Linked DNA regions of Homo sapiens: regions 1, 2, 3 and 4 are each linked to region 5. Evidence: promoter capture Hi-C in 16 types of primary human blood cells and fetal thymus (Javierre and others, 2016). All regions are on one chromosome and are shown on one strand. Each heading gives the region's core, a stretch centred on a gene start or on the middle of the fragment in contact. The rest is flanking DNA. Distances are from core to core; before and after follow the strand shown.

Region 1 (3,518 bases), core at 1-2,500, 280 kb after region 5:
CGGGAAAGATAGCTCACACCACACCAGTGTCTGACAACCGCCCCGAGGGAGGGGTGGCAGGAAGAGTTATGGGTGGGAAAACTGACTCTGCTCGTGTGCCAAGAAGGTATTATTCCCACTTACAGGTGAGGAAATGGAGGCCAAAAGACGTTAAAAGACTTGCCCAGAGGAGTCAATAAAACATGGTAGCTAAGAGCACAAGTTGGAGAGTCAGAAATCTGAGTTTGAGTCCCACCACTTGTTTCTTGTATAGGCCTGGGAAGTGACTTAAGTTTCCTGAGCCTCAGTTTTCCCATCTGTAAAATGACAACAGTAAGGGCACTCACTCCCTGGGATTACAGTGCTGATGAACTGAGATGGGCACAGTGCATAGCACGCAGTAAGAGCTCAATAAACTAATGATCATTGCTGTTTCTGCTGTGGAGCCAGTGCTCAAGGACAAAGCTAACTCCTGGCCACCACACCGAGCTGTGCCCCACACTCCATGCCCCACTGCCACACCAGGAGCCACCTGGAGCCTCCAAGGGAAGGTTCTTGAAATGGCGGGCAGAGGGACCCCCACTCCTGCCCCGGCAATGAACCCTACTCTCAGAGACATGAGTGGCTATGTTCAGCTGCCTCTGGGGGGACCTAAGCTGTTCTCATCCAGGTTCTCTCTTTTCTAGAAACCTCCTGGGTGCCTGTGAGGTCCCCTCAGACCAGGGAGTGGAGCATGTACCATTTCTGCTGGGAAACCTGTCTTCACTCTCATTTAATGGATCCTAACACTTCCCCAATAATAGGAAGATACATTCTGGGGTTTCCCGACATGCCAGGAAGCACAGGCAGAAAACAAGGTGGATTCTGTACCTACATCATTTCTTTTTTTTTTTTTCTTTTCCTCGAGACGGAATCTTGCTCTGTCACCCAGGCTGGAGTGCAGTGGTGCGATCTCAGCTCACTGCAACCTCCGCCTCCCAGCTTCAAATGATTCTCCTACCTCAGCCTGCTGAGGAGCTGGGATTACAGGAGTGCGCCACTACACCCGGCTAATTTTTGTATTTTTAGTAGAGACGGGGTTTTACCATGTTGGCCAGGCTGGTCTCAAACTCCTGATCTCGTCATCTGCCCATGTTGGTCTCCCAAAGTGCTGGGATTACAGGTGAGAGCCACCACGCCTGGCCTGTACCTACATCATTTCTAACAAATCTAGAGCAGCCCCTGACATGGCTAAAAACAACAACAACAACAACAACAAAACTTTATTAGACAGGGTAGACCTGAAATTCAGATACCTAGAAATGGACAGAAGCAAGGCAAATGGTTTCTTGAGCTGAGATAGAGCAAGAATCATCTAAATATAAACATAAGTGAGTCTGTCAGAGCCTAAGGTTTATATACTTACACTTCCAAGTAATTATTTTTTTTTCTCTGAAAAGTACATTAGTCTTAGAGACAGAAGGATTAGCATCAACTTATTGGCTTTGGTACTAGTCGTGTCACTTATGCTCTTTGAACCTCAGTTTTTGCATCTGTGAAGTGGGGACCGTAAGCCCTGCCCTGCCTCCACCGTGATACTGGTGGAGGCAGAACTGGGAAAAGCCTATGGGAATTTGCATATCATAAAGGAGGGCTCCCAAAGTCGAATGTCTCCTGCAGCCTGGCCAGTTGTGTGAAAGGGTGAAGTGCCCAGGTTTGAGACCACTAAGTGCAGCAGGGGTGGTGGCCAACTGGAGAGCTAGGGTCTGTCTAGAGGAGACAGCTGTTCCCACATCCAGCAAATTCTTACAAAACTTGAACCTGAACTCAGCAGCTGAACTTTGATTAAAAAACAAAAAAACAAAAACAAAAACAAAAAAAACAGAAATTAGTATAGAATTGTTTTAAAATAGGAAATATTCTCATGGTTAGGTACTGGTAACATATGAACATTTAAAAATTAAAAAACCCAACTATCTATGGGCCATCACTGTTCAAGGCACACAAAACGTATCTCTGGGCTGCATCTGGCCCACAGGCCACCAGTTTGCAACTTCCATTAAAGTATACAGGTAAGGTGATTAAAAATACATAAAGGTCAAAGAAATTAATAAAAGAAGCTCTCTGAATGAAATAGCCATTAAAGTTTATTATTAATAAAATAACCACAAATCCAAATGACAGATCCTGGCTCTCCAAGAACAGAATTACTAACTTTTCACTGAAGTTAGGTACCAAATTTAGAAACTGGTTATTTCACAAATAGGCACACACACACACATACACATTTTAACTCTCAGCAGCTGACTCTGATCAATACTCAGGAGGAAACATGCAAAAAATAACAGTTTTCAGTTGAGAACATACAATGTGCTTTAGCAGCAGGACGTAATTTTCACACACACACCCCTGCCAGATGTTTCCAACCTGTTCCCTCGAAGAAACCCCCTTCCCTCCAGGAGCCCCTGTCGGCCCCTCTGCTCAGCAGCCCGCCTCTCAGAGGAGGCTGACATTTGTAACTCACAAGGGAGACCTACACAAACACACACACACAGAACCCTGGCGAACTGGGCTCGTGAGAGGCTGCCCGAGTGCAGCATCCAGGCGGCACATGGGACTTGCTATAATCCCTGCCCTGGCACGGCTGCCTGGGTATTCAGCTGAAAGAGCTTTCTGGAGCCAACAACAAGAACCAGGCTCATGGGGGTCTCAGTGATAACCTCCCACTGAGGCCTCCGCAAGTCCCTGTGAGCAGGGGCAGACCCACAGACTCGCCCCAGACCATCCAGTCAGTGGCTGGCGCAGATACCGGAAGGAAGCATCCCAGCTGGATTGGAATCCTGTTTCCATCACTTCCTAGCTGCGTGGCCCTGGATATGTTACCTGACCTCTCTGTACCTCAATCCTCACAACTGTTATTTAATTTCATCTAATCATCACCATGACACTAGGAAGTAGTGATGACTTTGCTCATTTTAGGAGAAGGAGCAGGAAGCCCCAGAGGTCAGGCACAGAGCCAGCAAGTGGCAGAGCTGGGCCTGAGGATCAGGTCACATTGGTTCCCAACTCCACACTCTCTCCTCTGCTCTCTCCAGTACAAGGGAGAGGTTTACAGGGTCTCCACAATACTAACCCTTCCCAAGAGACCCCCTAGTTCAGCCCAACACCCACGTAGAGGCACCTACCTCATCCTTGCCCATGGCAGGAAGGCAGAGCACGCATCCTGGAAGAGCAGCAGACTGTGGGCATCAAAGGAAAATAAAGCTCTACCGCCCCAGCCAATCCTCGCAGCCCACAGGAGAGGGATTCCAAAGTGCACCTCCCATCCCTGTCCTGAACTGGAGCCTGATCTGCTTGCATCAGATACAGTGCCACTGCTAAAAGTACCACAGAGCTCCCCTGTGGGTGCTGATTGACAACTTGGGAAGCTGCAGATAAACACACTTCCCAGGAACAGAAGTTCAAGGGCGGGTCCTGAAGCACTCCTGGGGAGAATGGAGTGGGTCCCTGGGGAAAGAGAGGTCTGTCTCCTGTCAGGTGGGTGGAGAGGAGTTCCCTGT
Region 2 (3,607 bases), core at 183-2,682, 300 kb after region 5:
GGTTACACTATACCCTGCCCCATTTTCCTCCTATTAAACTCTCTTCCAATGTTCCAGTGTGAGAGTGCCATTCGTTTCCTGCAGACCCTAACTCAATCAAGGGAAAAGCTTCTTGAGAACCTGAAAACAGTCCCAACACAGGGGAAAGTGGAGCTGAGAGATCAACCAGTTACCCAAGCCAACCCCTGATGTCATCCATGCCTCCGGGTCAACTCCCCTCCCACATTCAAACAATTACCTAATAATGCTGGTTTTATTGCCTAATAAATTTTAAATGTATCCCTTCCCCTCTAGGCCTATTATATGAGACATATTTCAGGTGCCTGTAAGATGAATCCTTGAGCAGAAACCTGCTACTTATAATGACTCCGTTTTCTACTTTGTAGACAGCCTCCACCCTCATTTCTGGGCTGGTCCTTGACCTATGACTTTCCTGAACTGTCCTAAGGCAAGTTCAAAAGGATGAGCTGAGCCATTCAGATTCTATCTCAGAAATTGGAATCCAGTGACACAGAGGGAAGAAGGCAGCTGGTGGTGGCCTCTGAAGGTGGCAGTTCAGGTAGCACAAGGGTGGAGATTACTCTTGGGCCACACTGAAGGAGAAGATATGGGAAGGCAGAAACCAGGAGTAACAGAGGAAGTGCTTCAGTCAAAAGAAGCCAGTGCAGCCCAAGTATGGGAGGCAGGGATGCTGAGAGAGAAAACTGAAAGAGAATCACCTTGCCTCCTGGTTTTCCAGTTCCAGTTCTGGTTTCTGGGATGCCTGACTAGACTGAAGCCCCTGCCTTGGAGTTTACGCCTTCCCTGACGTTATGAGTGACTCTGTCACTTACGACCAAAGGAGCCCTGGCCTTGATACTTGATACTCTTGACTCAAAGTCCAAGTTGTAGCCATTACCATCTCTCGCTTGAATTGTTGTATCTCTCACTCCTAACTCCTCTGCCATTTCTGTCCTGCATTCCCTAACATTCATCCTCTCCACTGGAGTGACCATTCTGGGATGCCAACTTGCCATGTTGCTTCCCTCTGGAGGTTTATTGTCCTCACAGTAAAGTCCGAGTTGCTGGCCTTACACTTTATACAAAACTGCTAGTCGCTCATTACCTTAATAATGCTATTTCTCACCCCCATGCCTTTGCTCATGCTGTTTCCTCCTCCAGGAATACCCTTCACATCCTCTTGTACTGATGAATTCTTACTCAGCTTCAATGCCATCTCCTCTTCCATCACTTCTTCACTTTCCCATCCAGTTTGACTAAGAACTCCTTCCTCTTTTTTTCTCATACTACTGTGTATATTCCTATTTTAGCATTATATACTAATAAAGATGAGGGTGATGATGTTGGCTAACATTTATGGACCTCTTATTACATACCAAGTGCTAACTAGCACCTTACAGATGTCTTCTCTTTTAATCCTCATTGAAACCCCATGAAGTAGTTCTTTTATTATTCCTACTTCTCAAAAGAGAAAACTGAAGCAAAGATGTCAGGTGACTTGCCCAAAATCACACAGATAGAATGTGGTTGACTCAGGTCTATTGTTCCTTTCTTTTTTTAAAAAACTAACAGTTTAATTGAGATATAATTCACATGTCATACAATTAATTTACGCATTTAAAGTGTACAAGTCAATGTCTTAATATATTCACAGCTGCGTGCAACCATCAACATAATCAATTTTAGAACATTTTTATCACCACAGAAGAAACTCATACCCATTGATTACTCATTGTTTTAATGCTGCTCTTAGCAGCTGGTGTGGTGCCTAGCACATAGTATCTGTTCGACCAGCACTTGTTGAAGAATGGATAGCTACCATATCTTAGAAGACAGGGAAAGGTGCAAGAGAGAGGCTCTTGAGGCAACGCGTCTGTCATTTCAACATCAATTAAGAGATTTGCCTGATTCTTTTGTTTATTTATTTTATACTATTTTCCTTTCTTTCTTCTTTTTTTTGCTCAGTCACCAGGATGATGACAAGTGACAGTACAGTGGTGTGAACAAGGTTCACTGCAGCCTTGACCTCCTGGGCTCAAGTGATCCCCCTGTCTCAGCCTGTGTAGCTGGGGCTACAGGTGCACGCCACCATGCCTAGCAAATTTTTTGATTTTTTTGTAGAGACAGGGTCTCACTTTGTTGTCCAGGTCATCTCGAACTCCTGGGCTCAAGCAATCCACCTGCCTCAGACTCCTAAAGTGCTGAGATTACAGGTGTGAGCCATTACATCTGGCCCTATTTTTCCTTAGTAACAGCCCCCACTTACTGGTGGAGGTGTGTTGTAGATATAGGAGTCTGCTCTTACCATTTGCTCAGGGTTTTTTTACATCTCTGTGGCCCCAGGGAATTTCTCATCCTCACATTTGAGTTCTGGGATATTGCTGGTGATAATCTAGGTGCTGGGTATTTGATTTTGATTTTCAGTGGGAGAGAGTAAAGCCAGATTGCTTCTACTCCACCATTTTGGTGACATCACTCTCTACCACTGATTAAGTATTTTTTATGTGTGAAACCTTACAGTGTGTGATCTGTATATATTATTAGCTTATTAAGCAACAAAACCTGGAGATAGATATTATTGTATCCATAACACAAATGAGGAAACCAAATGTATTAGTTCATTTATGTTACCATAACAGAATACCGGAGACTGGGTATCTGTGAAGAAAATAGGTTTACTTTGGCTCAGGGTTCTGCAGGCTGTACAGGAAGTGTGGTGCTGGCATTCATTCCTAGTGAGGCCTCAGAAAGCTTTCAAACGTGGTAGAAGGGAAGGGGAGCTGGTGTGTCACTTGGCAAGAGAGGGAGCAAGAGAGAGAGGAAGGAGGAGCCAGGCTCTTTAAACAGCCAGCTCTCTTGTGAACTCCTAACCATGGGGAGGGCACCAATCCATTCATGAGAGATCTGCCCCCACTAGGCACACCTCCAGCATTGGAGGCCATATTTTTCTTTTTCTTTTTCTTTTCTTTTTCTTTTTTTTTTTGAGACAGAGTCTCGCTCTGTCACCAGGCTGGAGTGCAGTGGTGCGATCTCTGTTCACTGCAATCTCCTCATCCCGGGTTCAAGAGATTCTCCTGCCTCGGCCTCCTGAGTAGCTGGGACTACAGGCACCTGCCACCATGCCCGGCTAATTTTTTGTATTTTTAGTAGAGATGGGGTTTCACCATGTTGGCCAAGATGTTCTCAATCTCCTGACCTCGTGATCTGCCTGCCTCTGCCTCCCAAAGTGCTGGGATTACAAGTGTGAGCCACTGTGCCCAGCCTGGAGGCCATGTTTCAACATGAGATTTTGAGGAGACACACATTCAAACCATATCCCCAAGACTCAGGGATTTCATTTGTCTAAAGTCAAACAACTAGTAATCAGCATCATCCTAATATTAAGTAAACAACTACTACCTTTAATAGAAGATTTAACCATGCTTAGATACTATGCTAAGTTCTTTATGAACATCACCTCATTGACTCATTTATGCATTCAACAGATATTTATTGAGTACCTACCACAAGCCAGGCATTGTAACAGATGTTAGGGATTGGGTGGTGAGCAAGCAGATGTTCACCCAGGATTCACAGTCTAGTGGTGGAAAAGGCATTGTAGAAATGA
Region 3 (3,376 bases), core at 631-3,130, 280 kb before region 5:
TCTAAACAACCTCAGCACCGGGATTAGCCCCATTCTGTGAATAAGGAAAACAGGTTAGACAAACAATCTAAGGTCACAAAGTGAGAGCAGAGAGAAGTACCCTGCCCATGTTCTAATTTAAATCCCATCACCTTCTCCCTTCACATTGATGTGCTGTTTCCCATGTTTTCACCAGCGAGGTACCAAAACTTACTTCCTTTCTTGAATCCCAGGCAAGGTAAGGCCATCCTCTCTCCTGGCCACTCCCTTAGATCACTCTGGACCAGCCAGGGAGGTTTTTGAGTCTGGACTGAGGCACCTGCTGAACCTCCAGTGGCCCCAACACCCTAATTACTCCCTTTGAGCTGTCTTGGGTTTTGCAAACAGGGGAACTCCCATCTGCCAAGCTCTCCATCTTAAAGAGGTTTTGTAGTTTCAGGCCGGCTGCTCCTCCTCCTCCTCCCACCCTGCCCACCTCCCAGAAAAGAGAATGGGTGCTCAGTAACAGCTATTAAGATTGCTTACTCCAGTTCAGGTCCCACTATAGACAGTGGGTGGGTCAGCAGAAAGACCCCGACCCTCAGGAGGTTCAGAGTTCAAGAAAGCTTGTGACTACCCTCTACCTCCCAAAGGGCCAAAAACCACTTCCTAAAAACCTTCCCCTACCTGGCAGGCACTCACTTCCGGGTTAGTATGAAACTCAAACTACCTGTGCAAAAGGAAAGGGGCCAGGCCAGCTGAAGGCTCCCGATGAAAGCTGCCTCCCACTCTCCCCTTCAAAGGGTGTCCTAATTGTGACCTTTCCTTAGAAGAAGAGAAAGTGATTCACACTATATTGCTTCTTGGCCTTTTGGCTAAGATCAAGTGCACAATAGGAAAAAGCCTTAAGTCTTATGTAATAGACTAACCTAACAGTTCTTAGGTGGGGGTGCACAATATATCCAGTTACACAGTTAAAAACAATCATAATACCATTATCACCCCTGACAAAATAAGATAATTTCTTAACTTAGTCAATTTCCTCAGTTGTCATCAAAATGTCTTTGGACATTTGGTCAAGAATCAAGATCCAAACAAGATCCACAACAATGCACGACTGATGTCTCAACTTTCTTCATCTGTAACAGTTCTTCCCTTTAAAAAATGCCATTTATTTATTGGAAATAGTGTGTCTTGTAGAATTTCTCACATTTAGAAACTGAATAACTGCCTACCTCATGGCTAATTAGTCTGTTCCTGTAGCCCCATTTCCCTATAAACTGGCAGTTGGATCTATGGTTCTGTTAGATTTAGGTTCAGTTTTTATTTGGTGGAGGAAATTTTCAGGCAGTGCTGTGTGCTTTCAGACACTGTAAGGCACATAATGTCTGGCTGCTCCATTATACACCCCCAAGCCATCGACTTAGGCTCCTGAAGCCAGAAGAGTTTCTCCAGCCTCCAGAGAGCTTGGATTCCTAATCACAACGCAAATACAAAGCTACACATATATAAAGCTCTACTTTGGTTTCTTTCTTTTGTGGGGAGGGAGTTTTAGAAAAAAATTTTTGATACTAGAAAAATTTTAAGACATTTAGACCTAGTCTAATACCCTGATTTTACAGACGAAGAAACAGGCACAGAGAAAGCAAAGCGTTTGCCGGTGTCCACATTGCTGGTCATGAGCAGGATCAGAAGTAGCTCCTAGGGCCGGGCGCGGTGGCTCACGCCTGTAATCCCAACCCAAAACTTTGGGAGGCCAAGGCAGGTGGATCACCTGAGGTCGGGAGTTTGAGACCAGCCTGACCAACATGGAGAAACCCCGTTCTACTAAAAATACAAAATTAGCCGGGCATGGTGGCACATGCCTGTAATCCCAGCTACTCTCAAGGCTGAGGCAGGAGAATCGCTTGAACCCGGGAGGTGGAGGTTGCAGTGGGCCGAGATCACACCACTGCACTCCAATCTGGGCGACAGAGCCAGACTGTCTCCAAAAAAACAAACAAACAAACAAACAAACAAACAAACAAACTTAGCCCAGCCTATCTTAAATGCACTCAGAACACTTATATTAGCCTACGGATGGCCATAGCATCTAACATAAAGCCTATTTTAAGCGTTTAATGTCTCATGTAATTAATTTATTGAATACTGTACTGAAAGTGAAAAACCATGGTTGTATGGGTACCTGAAGTACAGTTTCCAATAAATGTGTATCACTTTCCCAACAACATAAAGTCAAAAAATCATAAATTGAACCATCATAAGTTGGGGACTATCTGTACTCTCAAGTCTCACGGCACTACATGTGCACCAGCCACAGCAAACTTTCAGTCCAGTTAGGCTGGCTTTTCCTCATATCCCTGAGAGCACACGTGCAACTCCCCCCAAAGAAAATCTTTACAAAAGGCAAACTAAAAAGTTAAAACTTATTTTTTTAAAATTCATCTCACCACATTCCAAAGCAAAAAATAGCTAATTCTTAAGAGTCAGCAACCTTTAAATTATCCATCCATGCCCTTCATGTCTGTGGATAAGCAAAAGTCAAGTTTTAAGGAGACAGATCCCATACATTTCACGGAGTACTTATATAACACAAGAAAAGGAAAGATCTGCATTCACCAACCCCATCATATTACAGGTAGAGAAAACCAGAGACCCAGGGAAAAGTCCCACCAAGACCCAGAGTAAGTAACAATGTCTACCTGCCAGGCACTGGGCTAAATACACTTATCATAACAATGAATGCTGGTAATACCCCCATGAGGCAGGTGAATCATAAATACCTATTACACAAATTAAGAAGGTGAGGCATAGAATGGTTAAATAACTTGCCCAAGGAAGCACAGCTAACAAGTGGTACAGTGGCATTTGAACCCACTCAGTTTGACCCCAGAATATTCGCTATGTATCATCTCTTAACTTAGACGTCTTGGATCTTATACTTAAAAGGGGTATGGCTAGGATAAGACAAAAATTTTAAACATTTAAAAATACTCTGGGGAGGGAGGGAGATCTAAAAAACCAAAATGCAAATCCCAAGACTTAAAACTACAAATGTAAGACTTGGACGCTTAAACCAGAATACAGAACCCCACAAGAAAGTAGAGATATCACGAAACATATTTTATTACTAGTTACTGCATGTGTCCCTTAAAGAACTAAAACACCAACATTTGAGCCAAAAGTAAGGCTAAAAATAGGCATTTACAGCAAGCTTTGGAAAGCTTTTAGTTTGCTTATGAGGTACTCATTTCTGTAGACTCCCAAAAACATGTGCATCACAGAACACAAAAATTCCCAAGACCACACAGCCACTCCACTAGTGTCACGTTTAAATTTGTCGAAGCTGTAAATAAAACCAGGGCTGGAAAAGCACTTCAGAGATCCACGTAGGCTCCAGAGAAAGGGTCATCATCTA
Region 4 (3,377 bases), core at 113-2,612, 320 kb after region 5:
ACTACTTTTGTTATTTTTATTTGTTCATGATACATGTATTTAATGGATACTTATAAGTATAAAAACAGATTAGGCAGAAATTATCAAAATTTATATCTGAGGTTCCTGGGGGATGAGGTGAGGAGGAAATGAAACCTGGAATGGGAATCAGGGGATTTCATCTTCAGATGAGTGACATATTGCTTATTTTATTAAAAAAAAAGAAATCTGACAATTTTTTTTGGTTATTTTTACACGGCGGATACATGGTAATTTGGCATATACTATTCTTTTAAAGTTTCTCAGAATCCAAAAAAAAAAAAAAAGCTCAAGAAATTGAAACATTGACTGTAATTCACTGAGACAAGTCACTTTTATAGATATATTCTGCATGAATTTCAGAAGGTGGAAGCAGCAAGGATGATCAGAAGGTGGAACTTAATCCTTCTCTCTCTCGTACCCCAATCCATCTATTCCCCAGTCCATATTTTCAGGAACACATTCCCCAGGATTGATCAAAGAAGCTACTACATACTAAGTCAAATAAAATATGATGCTCATCTTCTAGCTACTACATGCTAAGTCAAATAAAATATGACTCTTACCTTCTAGAGACCTCCAAGAGTCAGGAACTTGGGTTGTTAAGGCAGGAAGGGGCTGAGAATTGGGAGCCAAAGTGAGTAGACTCCTCTGAGCATCTCTGGAAAGGAGGCACTGGCCATCCATGGTCTCTGTCTCCTTAGACACCTTAATTTGTAGGCAGGTGGTATAATGAAAAGAGCACAGGCTTTGGAGTCTGTCAAATCTGGGATAGGGGCTCCATAGTAGCTATGTGACCTTGGGCAAATTACTAAGTCACTGTGTACTTCAGTTTCCTCATCTGTAAAATGAGGACAATAATATTTCCCAAGGTTGCTGCGATGTTTAAATGACCCAGTAGAAATCAAATGACAACAAAGCCCAGCATAGTGTCCAGCAAACAATAGAGCAGCATGGGTTAGTCTCTTCCTTCCCAGGAGTAGGATTTCCTCAGTGGGACATCTGAAATATGGCTCCATCAGTCACACGCAGTAAAAGGCCAGAGTCACCAGGACTTCTTTGTCTTAAAAATCTTCCCCCATGGAGAAAGCAGCAATTTAAGTGGCAAAGATGGTGTAGACCTTGGGCCTAAACAAGTCCCATGCCTAGGAGGAGGCAGGAGTGTCAGGATCACAGAACAACAGAGCTGGAAGAGACATCACCAAACCTCACTGCACATCACCTGGAAAAAATTACTCAGATTCTCTCTCTCTCTCTCTTTTAATTCTTTTTTTCGAGACAGTGTCTCACTCTGTCACCCAGGCTGGAGTGCTGTGGTGAGATCTCTGCTCACTGCAACCTTCGCCTCCTAGGTTCAAGCAATTCTTCTGTCTCAGCCTCCCAAGTAGCTGGGACTACAGGTGTGCGCCACCATGCCCAGCTAGTTTTTTATGTATGTTTAGTAGAGACAGGGTTTCACCATGTTGGTCAGGCTGGTCTCAAACTCTTGACCTCAAGTGATCTGCCCACCTCAGCCTCCCAAAGTGCTGGGATTACAGGCATCAGCCACTGAGCCTGGCCAAATCACTCAGATTCTTAAGCCTCAGATTAGAATGGCCAAGACTGGGGTGCAGAAATCTTTTCTTCTGTGAAAACTCCCCTTAAAATACAAATTAAAAGAATGACATATCATTTTTCATCCATAATATGGCAAACAAAAATTTGAGAACATCAAACATTGTTGGAAAAATGTGTGCTCTTAACCACTGCTGGCGGGTGCAGCCGCTTTGGAGAGCAATTAAAATTGTCCAAACCCTATTGTCTGGGATCCATGTCAGAGACTTTGTACAAAGAGGCCTGCCTGAGGATCCTTGTTGAAGGACTGTTTGAAATAATGGAAAGTTGAGAACAAACGAAAGCAGAGAGGAATGTCTGGATAAACCAGGCTATACCTGTATCTCGCAATACTATCCAGCTAAAAATAATTAGGTGAACCTCTAAATACTGACTTAGAAACAGCTCCAAGAAATATCGTGTTCTAAAAAGGAAATTGCAACATCTTACATACAACATGACTTTTATGGAAAAAGAATAACAAACAGGTAGTACTCTATATATTCCGTGGGTACATCATATCCATAAATGTACAGAAAAAGATCTGTAAAGATACACACTAATCTGTTAACTGGAAGGACAGAGAGATAGTGGAAAAGGATAGTTTCGCTTTATATATAATGTCTTAACTTTTTACCAGGAGAGCATATTTATTTGCTACTTATGCAAAAATTATTGAAACAGCTTTATTGAAGTATGATTGACACATACAATATCTTGTGCACATTTAAAGCATACAATTTGACACATGAACACAGCTGTGAAACTATCACTATAATCAAAATAATAAAGATATTTATCAGTTACACCCAGAAGTTTGCTTATGTGATAAAATTCTGTCCAATGACATGTAAGTGCAATTCTGTGGAGAGACTTCTAGAAAAGGCTTCCTTTCTGTTACAAAGAGACACACAGGAAGAAAAAAACTCTTCTTTTGCTGGAGATTTTTTTTCCCTGAGTGATGCCTGGAATAGTGTGAGCCAGCTTATGACTCAGGGGAAAACAGAGTCAACTTGGGAGCAAAACCAACACACATAAGGATGGTGGAGGGAGAAAGTGGAAAGAACCTGGGTCCCTGATAATATTGCTGAGCCACTGAATTAATTAACCTTGGAGGTACCAGGTACCCTCCTTTGGAACTTCTGGTTAAAGAAATGGAATAAAATGTCTATATTGTTTAAACGCATTTGAGTTGGGTTTTCTGTTACTTACTTATAGCTAAAAGCAACCAAAGAGATGTGTTTTGAGAATTAAGGGAGAGCTGGTATCCTGGCTTTGGAAAGGAAGAAAGTCAGAGGTTAAGCAGAGGTTTGAGGAAATCAGAGATGACCACTAGAGGAACAAACATGCTCAAATAGGATGTGACATGGGAGAGCCAGGAGGGACTGCTAAAACATTTAAGTATTCCTCCTGGGTACCCATGACATCACTTGGGGGGTTGTGCAGTGGACTTTCTGAACTCAAGGGAGAAGGCAGCTTGAATTGTTGTTATTTGGGCATTGAAGAAAAGTGAGATCCTTGATGATTAAGGAGGTGGAGGCACCTGGGTGCCCCCTGAACACCCTGATTCCCAGTTTCCCCATATGTAACATGGGTATAATAGTTCCTTCCATGTCCACATACAGGGTTATTGTGAGAATGGACTATGAGCTGAGATAAGGTAGAAAGAGCTGCAAAAATCAAACACACAACACAAAGCCTCATCCCTACCATTTGTCTTCTACCCCTGTCAGAGCAAGTCTATTGAACTAAGTCCTCTGGGTGTC
Region 5 (3,117 bases), core at 468-2,967:
AACCCCCCACCCTTCATTCACTCTCTTGTCCAGGAGTGGAATTCCACTCATCCACTCCCTACCGGACCTCGAGAAAATCGCTCTTCTTCTCTGGGCTTCACGTTCCATATCTGTTCAAGGAGAGAATGGGCCTTTCTCCCTCTGTCTTTGGACTAGTAACTATGATAGGCACATAGTAGGCATCAATAAATAATTGTTGAATGAATGGGTGAATGATTTGCCTTCTAAAAAGAGCACTCACATTAACTTCTCCTTTCCCCCTCCCCTCGACTTTGCTTTGAAGAGAGGCACACTCCCTCTACCACACCGAGGGAGGGGGCGTTGAGCTGAGAAAGGTTGAGAGAATGAGGGACCCAGGTAGGTGGACATCGGCCAAGAAAGGAACCACAGCGGGAGGTAAGACCGAGAGTCCCCAGCTTGAAGCGTCACCACTCCGGGATTCCCAGATTCCAACGCGAGCCTGGGGAAAGCCCACAGTGGAGAGAGTCCGGCTGGCAGGGAATGGCCCTACCCCCGGGGTGAAATCTCGGAGGGTCGTGCAGCCGAGTCGCGCCTCTGCGCTGATGCGTGAGAGATGCCGGACGTCGCGTTTGCCTGTGCGAGCCTCGCGGATGCTGTGCAGTCTTGGTCCCCTCTGCGTGTGTCTAACGCCGAATGCTGGTGTCTCGAGGTGTGAGCTTCGGGGCCGGTGTCTTTAAAGAACCAAAGATTCTTAAGGAGTGATGATCTGGGTAGAGCGGCCCGACGTAGCCGCGCTCCCAGGTCTCGGTGCGAGTCCTGCGGACAGACCAGAGGAGACCTGCTGGCCAGATGCCCCGGGCCCAAGGCGGACGCCAGACTGTCTCTGCGCCAGCCGGGCTGGCCTTCGGAATGGATCAGGCACCCGGGAGGCCGGAGTGGATCTCAGACCCTCAAGCCGGGAACAAACCCGTCGATGCCCGTGGGCCTGGAGTCCGCCTCCTCCTTCCCGCCCCACCCCTACCCCTGCCTCCGAAAGGCTTCTTCGCTGGTCAGTAGCTGCGTGCCCGTCTGCCTGAGGCTGGGTCAGAATTGGCGGGCTGGTAACGACCCCGTGCACAAGCGGCTCCCAGTCTCTCCAGAAAGGGCCGATGACTAAGGGGTGGGGGTGGGGGCGGAGGGCTGGAAGGTGTTAGGGAAGAACGTTAGCGGCCTATCCTGTCTTCAGCAGCGCCCTCTCATCTTCTAGCTCTGACGCCGAGCAGAGCAGTTGGAGCTCGGGACTGGGAACTGCTGGAATTCCTATTTAGACTTCTAGACAGTCTAGAAACAAGAACCTTTCTTTCCCTGGGCCTCAGTTTCCTTGTCTGTAAAATCAAAAGGCGGGCTCTAGGTGTAGGCCTTCTTTTCGCTTGGTGATTCTGGATTCCTTTCCTTGGATCCGTGGGGAGGGGGTGGCAGCAACAGTCCAGGGCGTTGGCCGTCCTGTGCCTCAAGTACGTAGTCCCCGTGCCCGCCCCCTCAACACCCCCAGCAGCCCGCCCCCCTAAGCCCGCAGAGCAGGGAGCTGAGTGGGAGGGGCAGAGGCGGGGCCGGTTCCCAGTCCCTGCTGGCGGACTAGAGTGGCGCGGGCTGAGCGTAAAACCTGGGATAGCCACTCCCCCTTTTCCTTATCCCCGCCCCCCTGCCATTGGCTCCCGGGAGAGGTTGACATCAAAGCCGCGGTCTTATATAAGCCAGATCCGCAGGGGAGTCCGCAGAAGGGTTAAACAGGTCTTTGGGCTTCGGCGACCTCGCCCGCGGCAGAAACCGGTAAGAAGACAGTGGGCTGCGCGTCTCATTTTCAGCCTTGCCCGGACTCTCCCAAAGCCGGCGCCCAGTAGTGGCTCCAGAGCCCACAGGTGGCCCCCGGCAGTCTCTGGGGCGCATGGAGCGGCGTTAATAGGGCTGGCGGCGCAGGCCAGTAGCCGCTCCAACATGAACCTCGTGGGCAGCTACGCACACCATCACCACCATCACCACCCGCACCCTGCGCACCCCATGCTCCACGAACCCTTCCTCTTCGGTCCGGCCTCGCGCTGTCATCAGGAAAGGCCCTACTTCCAGAGCTGGCTGCTGAGCCCGGCTGACGCTGCCCCGGACTTCCCTGCGGGCGGGCCGCCGCCCGCGGCCGCTGCAGCCGCCACCGCCTATGGTCCTGACGCCAGGCCTGGGCAGAGCCCCGGGCGGCTGGAGGCGCTTGGCGGCCGTCTTGGCCGGCGGAAAGGCTCAGGACCCAAGAAGGAGCGGAGACGCACTGAGAGCATTAACAGCGCATTCGCGGAGTTGCGCGAGTGCATCCCCAACGTGCCGGCCGACACCAAGCTCTCCAAGATCAAGACTCTGCGCCTAGCCACCAGCTACATCGCCTACCTGATGGACGTGCTGGCCAAGGATGCACAGTCTGGCGATCCCGAGGCCTTCAAGGCTGAACTCAAGAAGGCGGATGGCGGCCGTGAGAGCAAGCGGAAAAGGGAGCTGGTGAGTCCTGGGGCTTGCATGCTCCAGCCAAGGGTGCAGGAGCGGTGAGCAGCCTCAGGCCATGCAGGTAGTCGAAGGAGGCTGTGTTGTCCTGTGTCCGATTTGGAAAGGTTGGGAAGAGTTCTGAGATGGTTGGTCACAGCGTGCGATCCTGTGCATGGAGGGAGGCAGATTCGTCATAGAATTCATTTGTAATACGGGAGAGTGTTTGTAATACTGAGTGAATAATCTGTTTGGAGCCTCGGACCCTCCAAAAATGCACACACCACAGGTTTTGCTTCCAATTTGGAGAAGTCCTGATTCATTCCTGGGCTCTCCTGGAAGCCAGGTTAAGAATATGTGTTAAAGTTCTTTACTTTGAGTTTGAATTTATGTGCCCGGGCTCGGTTCCTGTTTTCAAAGGGCCTTTGCTGGACCGGCTAGTCTACTTCCATCATTGTATAAATAGGGAAACTGAGGGCCCAGAGTGGGTCGGGGCAGGAAAAGCACCTATCTGAGGAGTCCAGGGTGGAGGTGAGGTAAAACAGATCGGGTCTTCTACTCAGTCCAGGGCCAGTTCTGGTTCTCCCCATGGACTGGTTCTGAGGACGACTTCAGTGGCTTTGCATGTAAATAAGAGCCACTTCTTTTAGCTTTGGA

Evidence for each region. The method cuts DNA at HindIII sites, captures the fragments that hold promoters and counts their contacts. A CHiCAGO score of 5 or more calls a contact.
Region 1: a fragment that was not itself captured here is called in contact with the fragment with the promoter of HAND1 in region 5 in 2 of 17 cell types (total B cells and neutrophils); the score reaches 5.8 in total B cells.
Region 2: a fragment that was not itself captured here is called in contact with the fragment with the promoter of HAND1 in region 5 in 2 of 17 cell types (total B cells and naive B cells); the score reaches 5.5 in total B cells.
Region 3: a contact is called between a fragment that was not itself captured here and the fragment with the promoter of HAND1 in region 5, in 1 of 17 cell types (total B cells). The highest score is 6.1, in total B cells.
Region 4: a contact is called between a fragment that was not itself captured here and the fragment with the promoter of HAND1 in region 5, in 2 of 17 cell types (neutrophils and total B cells). The highest score is 6.2, in neutrophils.

What each region holds. Positions count from the first base shown.
Region 1 is chr5:154,199,294-154,202,811 of GRCh38, reverse strand. All of the region lies in intron 1 of GALNT10 (polypeptide N-acetylgalactosaminyltransferase 10), which reads right to left. Among named protein-coding and RNA genes, the nearest start is that of GALNT10, 10 kb to the right of the region's middle. The HindIII fragment of the contact is 4,862 bases long and covers 1-3,518 here.
Region 2 is chr5:154,175,549-154,179,155 of GRCh38, reverse strand. All of the region lies in intron 1 of LOC124901118 (a long non-coding RNA gene), which reads left to right. Among named protein-coding and RNA genes, the nearest start is that of GALNT10, 13 kb to the left of the region's middle. The HindIII fragment of the contact is 2,643 bases long and covers 111-2,753 here.
Region 3 is chr5:154,758,530-154,761,905 of GRCh38, reverse strand. The region is part of intron 1 of LARP1 (La ribonucleoprotein 1, translational regulator); the gene reads right to left. Among named protein-coding and RNA genes, the nearest start is that of LARP1, 4.8 kb to the right of the region's middle. RefSeq lists an enhancer at 704-813. The HindIII fragment of the contact is 2,588 bases long and covers 587-3,174 here.
Region 4 is chr5:154,158,756-154,162,132 of GRCh38, reverse strand. No RefSeq gene overlaps it. Among named protein-coding and RNA genes, the nearest start is that of GALNT10, 30 kb to the left of the region's middle. The HindIII fragment of the contact is 6,524 bases long and covers 1-3,377 here.
Region 5 is chr5:154,476,827-154,479,943 of GRCh38, reverse strand. HAND1 (heart and neural crest derivatives expressed 1) reads left to right here and starts at 1,717. Exons shown (of 2, transcript NM_004821.3): 1 at 1,717-2,478. The coding sequence starts at 1,936. RefSeq lists enhancers at 1-269, 3,043-3,117. The HindIII fragment of the contact is 6,833 bases long and covers 1-3,117 here.